Linked DNA regions of Homo sapiens: all the other regions are linked to region 3. Evidence: promoter capture Hi-C in human tissues and cell types (Jung and others, 2019). All regions are on one chromosome and are shown on one strand. The core of a region is centred on a gene start or on the middle of the fragment in contact, and the rest is flanking DNA. Distances in the headings are between cores, read along the strand shown. Region 1 has its middle 78 kb from the start of SEMA3D. Region 2 overlaps SEMA3D (semaphorin 3D). Region 3 holds the start of SEMA3D (semaphorin 3D).

Region 1 (3,000 bases), core at 486-2,985, 78 kb before region 3:
CTCACCGTTTATATCTATAGGGTGGGAATATGGGCTTCTGGGGATCACTCACATACTTGTTTCCCAATTTAGGAAGATGCTCAGACTCCCAGCTGATCCTGGCCAAACAGGCTGCTTTGTTTTCCTCTCCTCCCTGGCTTTTGTTGCTTCTGGTCACTTCTCTGTTGAGTTCCAGTGTTCTCTCTGATATGATCTATTCTAAGTATGGTTATATACTTGCTATTTTGTTCCCTTTTTGTGGAAGAGGGTATTACTAGCTCCATCTATTTAACCATCTTGACTTCCTTTCACGTATTTACTTTTGAGGAGCTGAATATTAAAATACTTAATAAAGATTATTTTTATCAACACCTTACAAGTATTTAAAATTATGCCAGTTTATGAATCATTAACATTTTCTGAATTAACTAAACATAAGCATCATAAGCAGGTGTTAGTAAATTCACACCTGAAGTGAATATTTAAGTCTCACATTGGAGAAAACATTTCTGAAAATTGAAAAAAATCAATGAATTGAGATGTATTAACATAAATATATTATTTAGTGAAAATTTGCGTTGACTCATGAAAATGTGAAGAAACATCACAGTTACAATAACTACAAATTAACAGTTACTGTTAATAGCTGGGGCTAAAGTGAGATGTTTAAAGTACCATAGAAAGAGATTTCCTAGGGAATTGAGAAGTGACACTCCACAGAAAGTAATGCATGACTTACTTACTACTCAATATAAAGTTGTGGTGAGGTAAAGAAGTCAGCACCTGAGGAGAAAAAAATTATGGCCTCTTACCAAGATAATAACATGAGAATTAAATTCCAAAAAGAGTCAAATTGGCTTAGCTTTAGAGGCATGACAAACCCTCTGCCAAGACTGAATCTAACTGGGATGAATAAGTTTGGAGAATGGATGGATAATAGATAATGGATAGATCTAAAAAAAAAAAACAAAAAGATGCTGACTACAATCATAAATATGATAACCCATTAAGCCATTAACTCTGAGAACTAAAAAAAATAGATGGTTGACCCTTGTGCTCCCTTTTAAATTATTTATGTGAGAAATAGTTATCTTTCAAGTGGTTTATATCACTTATTTAGATACATATATATATGTATATTTAGGAAAAAATATTTGGAGAACAATACTAATGTTTTCTTTTAAAAATAAAACATTTCTTTTCAAAAAAAATTTATAGCTTTTAATTAAAAAAGCAGCAAGCTTCACCTCTTCTGAGTTTTAATTTTTTTGTCTGTTGAATGGTAGATTGATCTCGATAATCTTTAACTCCTACATTCTGTAGGTCTGTGAAGATAATGACTCAACACGAGTATGTATTTCAAAGATGCTTATAAACTAAATCTCACTCTTTGATACTTTGGCTTGTGATCCAGAGAGATGAGACTTAGGTAAATAGGGTATGATGTGAAATGTACTCCTGAGAATTAGGAGTAGATCCCTGAATTCTACACTGGGTCCTTATTATGGCCAGTAACCTGCCACAGTTCAACAAAGCAAAAAAATGTGAACTTTCTGAAGCCTTGAGGGAGTTCTCAAAGGACTTTGAAAGAGCAGTTAGATATCTTGATATTAGTGAATATAAACACAATTATTGATATTATCTGATTATTGTTGCTGTTTTCCATCTTGCTAGAGATCCCTATGAAACAAAAACATAAATCTGATGTATATATACAAAATTAAAATGCAGACATTAACAACAGGGATAGCATTTACTGTATTTCCCAGCAGTAAGCATTTTTTTTGGTAAAAATATTCCCTCATGCATGTTTGCAAAATATCAAGTCTTATAAGTGAAGATATAATAGATTATGGATTAGAATATGTATTTTAGTAGAACATATTATTGATTCTCATTATTCACCTTTGTAAGAAAGCTAACATTTCCAGCTAAACTACAAGACAAAGAAACTAATTAACAAAAATAGAAACACACTTAAGCTCTTAAGTAATATTTTATTGACAATATTTGGTGGTATTTGAGTATTGTCTAAAGGAGTATAATAATTTCTTTACCTGTGTAGTGTGAAGGTAACAGTCTTTCAGAACTATACTACAGACTACAGAGAATAAACAAGTAAAGGCAGAGGAAGAGAAAAAGTGAGAGATTGAATAGAAATAATTAAAAATAAAAGGGACATATAATTTAAAAGTTGATGATGAAGTCTGTTTAGCTCTATTCTCCCCATTCAATTCAAAACAAAGGAATACATTGTAAAATTAGCTATTTTCAGAATTTGACAAAAGGATGTAAAATTTGTTAAATCAAATAAGTGATGATTAAATGCTATCACATCATCATAGATATGTTTTACTTAATCATAGTCATTATTCATTTATGACTGAGTATTAAATGCTGTTAATTAATTCCTTAAATTTGCATTCTACTAATTATGCTTATATTTTGTTTTGTTTAATATTTATTCTTATTAAACATGTACCATTACCACCTGTCATAACTTTGAGAAAGTAAAGAATTGATTCATTGCATTACTTTTATTTTGTTTTATTTTATTTTTTGAGACAGGGTGTGGCTCTGCCCCCAGGCTGGAGTGCAGGGGTATAATCTCATCTTACTGCAACATCTGCCTCCTGGGCTCAAGTGATCCTCCCACCTTGGCCTCCCAAGTAGCTGAGACTACAGGTGCACACCAACTTGCTGGGCTAATTTTTAAATATCTATATAATTTTAGAGATTAGGTCCCATTATATTGCCCATTATATTGCCCAGACTAGTCTCAAACTCCTGGGCAACATACTTAGTCACCTTCAATCTTGGGCCTTAAAGTTAATTTTTATTTTCTTTCTATTTTTGTGAGATGGGGTCTCACTATATTGCCCAGGCTGGTCTCAAACTCCTGGGCTCAAGGGATCCTCCTACCTCAGCCTCTCAAAGTACTGAAATTACAGGTGTAAGCCATCATGCCTAGTTTAATTTCCATTTCCCTCATAAAATAATTAACATTGTAATTAATATTAT
Region 2 (3,040 bases), core at 66-2,565, 81 kb after region 3:
ACCTCACCTTGAATTGTAGTTCCCGTAATCCCCACGTGTCCTGTGAGGGATCTGGTGGGAGGTAATTGAATCATGAGGGCGGTTTCCCCCATGCTTTTCTCCTCTTAGTGAGTGAGTTGTCATGAGGTCTGATGGTTTTATAAGCATCTGGCATTTCCCCTGCTTGCACTCATTTTTCATCCTGCTGCCCTGTGAAGAGGTGGCTTCCACCATGATTGTAAGTTTCCTGAGGCCTCCCCAGCCATACGGAACTGTGAGTTAATTAAACCAGTTTTTCTTTATAAATTGCCCAGACTCGGGTATTTCTTCACAGCAGTTTGAGGACAGACTACTACAGATGGCATGAGACATCTCAGCTGTGACTGTCACAATTGAGAAGTTTCACATATGCCTTTTAACATTATTTTTTGATATACATATACTTGATTTTAATAGAATTAATTTTATAAAACAATATTGTTATAAAATAATGTTATCTGTTTTATATTACACACATAACTTTTTGCTTTATTCCTTAATTTATAGTGATCTTAGTTTGAGGAATTATTTGTCTTGTCATATTGTCGTATTTGTCTATTACTTGGAGTCAATAATAGATGTTGTATTAAGTTAAGACCTTCCGATGTTTTCTACATTAAATTTATATACTTGATTGAAACAAATACCAAATATGTGTGACATGGCGTTTAATTTTAAACATTCTTTGTAACTTGAAGAAGGAGAAATTCTGAATAACTTGAAGGAAGCTATGAAGCAATTGTAAAAGTAGTATCAATCGTGCTCAGAATGATACTCTCAACTTTTTTCCAGGAAGTTTATTCCATCGTGACATTGCTTTTCTGGAAATGTACTAGATATTTATAATACTAACTTTTTTACAGGTCAATAGGAAAAAAGATCCCAGCAAAGCTTTTGAAAATTTAAAAGGACTCATTCAAAGTATGAATTTACTCCGTAACTATAAATGATAAATCTCACAATGATGGATTATATAAAGCATCCACTATTGAAAGCTGGCCAAATAAGAACAAAATGTAATTTAAAAGTATGGATGTGATAGAAATGTGACCATGAGTAATTGCCACACTCCTACTCCACAACCTGTCTTGGCAAGAACACAGACCCCATGACATAATAAGCTTAATTTGTTTCTAATTTATGTTTCCCTATGTGATATCATCTGTTTTATTATTGATATAGGTAATGTTCTAAGACCAATGAACAGAATGATCTATAACATTCCATCACAGAAAAGCAAGAGAATTTGATTTGTTTGTGTTCTTTCTGATTTGGACTTGCATTTGCAAGGAAATAATGGTTAGTGTGGATAGCTTAATGATATCTAAGAGAGCATAATAATAACATAATATTCACCTGCAATTTTGAAGCAGTCTTTTGTAGGGCTTTTAGATTTGACTAATATTTTTTCTTTATATGCTTTGAACAATTAGCTTTAGAGACTAAATGTACACAGTGGAGAATCATAGGTATTTTTGTGTTGCTAAAGGGGAATTATGAGTTATCTTGATAAACAGAACGTTTTCACATGATCTCAAGCCTCAGAAAGCATATTGGAGGTCAGCTGATGCCAAGTTAAGATGAGCTAATTTTCCCAATGTTAAATCTAAGAGAGAATCCATGCCTTGCCTTGGACAAAAAGCTGTAGTATTTCTGGAAGTTATGGGCAGAAGCTTTGAAGGCACTCCATAGAAATGATGCTCTGATACTAACTCAGCATAAAAAGCCCTGGAACTTTAGAGATCAGAGGAGAAATGCTGAATTTAGGGGGAAGGCAGAAATAGAAAGGATGCTGAAAGGCTTAAAGAGAAACGTTTTTACTTACACAGCTTTGTAGAGAATACATTGGAGATCTGACTATACTAAAGAAACATGAGAATAGCCCTACTGATAAAACTGCTATTTCCTGAAGGAAAAAGAAAAGTGGGCAGGGCAATAATTTGTGCTGAATATCCTGAGATGGCAGGGAAAGGTGACTGTATTTTGATCTGGATCTATTTTTAGTTGTGAAGTTTCTCTGCTGAGGAATTTTACTCCCTAGATTGGAATACATTGGAAGTTAAGCTTCTCCAAAGCTGATTTTCTTTTTAGCCCCATGAATTTCTGTCTTTCATAAAATGTTCTTTAAAGGATGTGGGAAGCATTTTTTTTCTTTTCTTTTCTTTTCTTTTTTTTTTAATCTATGTAGTCTTCTCGTGAGAGAAACTGACAACTCCACCCAGTTCGGGATCTCTGGCAATAAATGCAAGATTTCAAGGTTATAGGATCTTGTTCATTTAACACTCAAATACTGAGGAAGTCTGTGTTGCTTAATCCTAAATTTATTAGATTCAATATGACTCACCACTCCCTTCCTTTCTGGGGTGAAGAGGAAGAATATAGACCATCGGGTCAAATGTTTCCCCAGGCTGAATGAACAATTGTATTAAGGGACACTAAAAGGGAGATACAAAGAATTATTTTTAGAACAAAACTATTTCAAATAAGAGCAGAGATTACCTAATCCTTATCCTTCCCCTTAAATAGCAGAGCATCTGGCTATCAATTAGGAGATTCATTTTATTAGGCTTGCTAAAGGAAATATAGATAAAAAGATATTTCCATTTTACTATTAGAGATACTTAATGGTCTACTATGTTATATGGTTGTCCTTTGTCACAAGTATATTTTCATTTTTGTTGTGGATGAACATTTTCTCTCCACTAGGCTGTGAGTTCCATGAGGACAGGAGTGTGTCAAACTTGTAATCAATGTCTTTCCAGCATGTGCAGATACCTGGTATTCTTAGATGAGTCAGTCATTGCCTGCAAAAGTCACATTTTGGGAGGGTAGTGACTCACTTTCTTGTGCTAGCAATTGGAAATTATTTTAAATATGATTACTAACTACATGTGGAAAACATATATTTCTCCCTGTGACTTCTGGTAAGATATCAAGAGGTGTTAATAAAGACAAATGAAGAAACTCTTCAAAAAATGCACACATACATACAAACGTGAAAATTTCATGTTGTTTATATGAA
Region 3 (3,141 bases), core at 391-2,890:
TAAACACAAAATTCTGGCCAATAAACTGACAAAATTATTTAAAAGTTTAAAAATAGAGATTTTCTAAAAATCAAAAACTACTTACTATAAACCCACCATATACGGGAGAAAAAAAGAGATATTTTATTTGCACAATGACATTGCAATTTGCATGGAAGTGCAATGACATATACAAATGAAAATAATATAAACACATAGAAACATACAATAAACAATTGCATGACTATGTACAGAATGAGTGGTATAACATTAAATATAAAGCATTCAGAAAAAAAATAAAAGTTGCTATAGTTTGAAATAGTCTACGAGGATTTAAAATTTTTTTCTCTATCCAAAGAGGGTATTTATGGGGTTGATTGGTTGTGAGTCCAAACCAAGGTTATAGAGATGGGGCAGCATGAGACACAAGAAAGAGCCTTGGTCAGATTTGAGAAACCTGAGCCTTTCCTTAGCCTGACTCTGCCATCAACCATTTATAACTTAAAATGACTCCTTTAGCTTCTGTGGCCCTCAGCCCTCTGCCACAGATAAAAGGTCAAATGAAGAATGTCTTCCACCCCTTTCAGTTATTCCATTACTGCATTTGTCTGTTCACCATCTCCAAATCAAGATATCTCTTGTTACTTGCTAAGGAAGCTTTGGGACCCTACACCTTGTGCTCTTAAATCAAGCTGACAAATGCAGGATCCCGTGGCTGCTTGCTTTCCATGTCTCTACCTCATGTCAGATTTATGTTTGGGACTAAGGGCAAGGTGTGTGACTATAAACCTGGATATCCCATCACAAAGGATTTACCATGCAGCTAAAAATGCCTAACGTACAGGGCTCACCAAATGCACAGGCCTTTTTAATGTCCCTGACGGTGGCCTCATGAACTCTCATTGTCATATATTTTTGCAGAATCTGTAGAAGTGAGATATTTCTGCATTACTTTTGCTTAAAGAGGATCCTCTATTCCAATTGCATAGGATCCAGGTTCATCAAAACTTAGATCTTCTCGTCATTATATACTTCTAAGTTCCTACTGTGTGAATAAGGGGTGCAAAAATCTAAAAAACTCCCGAAGACAAGGATATGAGGCACACCTCTTTGTAGGTCTGGCGTAAGGGAAAGAGGAAGAAAGGATTACATTCTACTCGTTTTTATCTCTCCCTGTTTGGTCTTAATCGGGTGCCAGCCCCTTAACGGAGGGTTGATCCCTGTTCCTCATCCCTATGCCTGCCTTGTCAAGGCCATTAACCGTGGATTGAGGTTTTACATAGTGGAACGCAGGTACTGTTTTGTGGGATTAGCATTTTTAGGACGGTGTTTGTGGTCACTCTCCCTGTTTCTTCCTCATGGGGTCCCTTAACAGGTTTTATGGTATAGAGAAGGAACTAAAGAAGTCCCCAAGTCACCCAGAAGGAAGATCAGACGTTAGAGGTTGCTTTACACATAGGGTGCCCTGTCCTGATAAACATCCGTCAGCGCTTGGCCAGGGCTACCTCTAAATCCACGCTGCTGGCAGCCTCCGCGCAGCAGGGATGAACTTCTGCACGCTTGGGAGTTCTGGCGTGCGCAGTGGAAGGAGGGGGCGAGGGCTGGGGGAGGAGATCGGAAGGGGAAAGGTAATCCCCGGCGTTTTCAGCATCCTCTTTTTAGAAAGACTGAGTCTCTCCCAGGACAGCTGCTGCGGTCACACCACAAACTTAAAAGCCGCCCTCCTGTTTGGAGCGTGCCTTTCCTCGCCACCCTCTCCTCCCCAAAGCTCCAGCTGGTGCCTTGCTCTCCGCCTGTCCTAGCGCGGCTCTCGGGGGAGGCAGCAGCGCCCCCTGCCTCCCGGCCTGGCCCCTGCGGCCGCAGCTTCCCGGCTCTGCCAGGGCTGCCGGCGGCTCCGCTTGCTCAGCCAGGGCTGCGGCTCAGAGGAACGCGCGCCGGTGCCCCGGGTTGCCGCGCCGCTGGACCTCAGCCTGCATCCCGTTCCCCTCTCCCTGAAAAGGCACCAGGAAAAGAGAGAGGGAGAGAAGAGTTCACAGCAGGTAAGTCTGGTTTGGGTCACCTGCTACTCCAGTGGGAGGGTGTGCTGGAGACCGCGGTGCTAAGCGGGGATAGCCGGGATTTGGGGGTGGCTGTGGGTCCGAAGTGGAGGACGAGCATGGTTTGGGAGATAAGGAACCGTCCTGAGACAGAGAAGGCTCCCGGGAGCGGACAGAGAGTGGGCGAAATCGGTGCGCAGTAATCGCGGCGCCAGCTTCAGCGCGGCCCCTGGGGCGCAGTCCCACCCCGCCTCAGCAGCTGCGGAGCCTTCTGACGAGCCTCCGCCTGGCAGCACTGCACAAAGTTTTCCTCCTGAGACGCGTCCAGGAACTTTGCTCTCTCCCTGGCTTCCTGGTTCCCCCACCACCCCTCCTGGTCTGGGCAGCAGAGAGCGTCTATGAATGTGTCCCCGGCTTCCGCAGGCTGCAGGTTCATTTGGAGACGCTTTAGTCGGGAACATCCGGGGAGTACTTGACCAAAGGGCATCTGCGCCCTCGCTCGCTCCTTTCCTTGTTGGTCTGGGAGAAGGGAAAGGGGCAAGGAAGAAGGAAGGGAAGCGTGGTGGTTTTTGTTGTAGCGTTTTGGAAGAGGAATGGGCGACGCCTTTTTCTTCGCCGGGGAATCGCGACGTTCCGTCTGATGGAAGTGTGCATCCTTTTAGATTTAGAGGGAAAGTTGGAGTCAAACAGCAGCCACAAAGCTGGCTGTCTGAAATGTGGTTAAGGCAAAACACTCGGGGGATCTCTTTGTAGTAGTGGGCTTGGCTCGCTTTGGAAAGGCCGGATTTGACTCGTGCTGGGCATTTAACCAGGAGTGCGGTCCCCAGGGTGTTTCCTCCCGGCTTCTGCCCAACGAGCCTGGAGTTAATGCGTTAATGGGCTACCCTGGTAGCGCACGGGCCGTTTTCGGCACTGTTTCTCCTTCTCTGATGACTCGAGTTCAACCTCCTGGGCTGAGTTGCTTTGCCTCCGTCACAGTGCAAGGAGGGAAGTTGACAGGAGGAGGAGACGCCGCGCTGTGGCAGGGAGCTTTGGGATCCAGGGGACTGGAAGAGAGCCGCGCGCCAGCAGCTGGGGCCGCTGGTGTCCGGGATTCCGAGTTATGGGGACAGGAGTTAAATAGCCG

Evidence for each region. The method cuts DNA at HindIII sites, captures the fragments that hold promoters and counts their contacts. A contact is called where the count stands out against the background at its distance.
Region 1: a fragment that was not itself captured here is called in contact with the fragment with the promoter of SEMA3D in region 3 in 4 of the 25 tissues and cell types used here (H1 embryonic stem cells, adrenal gland, mesendoderm cells and 1 more).
Region 2: a contact is called between a fragment that was not itself captured here and the fragment with the promoter of SEMA3D in region 3, in 8 of the 25 tissues and cell types used here (H1 embryonic stem cells, adrenal gland, aorta and 5 more).

The regions. Positions count from the first base shown.
Region 1 is chr7:85,263,986-85,266,985 of GRCh38, reverse strand. No RefSeq gene overlaps it. Among named protein-coding and RNA genes, the nearest start is that of SEMA3D, 78 kb to the right of the region's middle. The HindIII fragment of the contact is 6,336 bases long and covers 1-3,000 here.
Region 2 is chr7:85,103,934-85,106,973 of GRCh38, reverse strand. All of the region lies in intron 3 of SEMA3D (semaphorin 3D), which reads left to right. Among named protein-coding and RNA genes, the nearest start is that of SEMA3D, 82 kb to the left of the region's middle. The HindIII fragment of the contact is 3,004 bases long and covers 1-2,817 here.
Region 3 is chr7:85,185,555-85,188,695 of GRCh38, reverse strand. It overlaps SEMA3D (semaphorin 3D), which reads left to right and starts at 1,640. Exons shown (of 19, transcript NM_001384900.1): 1 at 1,640-2,018. RefSeq lists a silencer at 1,769-1,828. The HindIII fragment of the contact is 9,968 bases long and covers 1-3,141 here.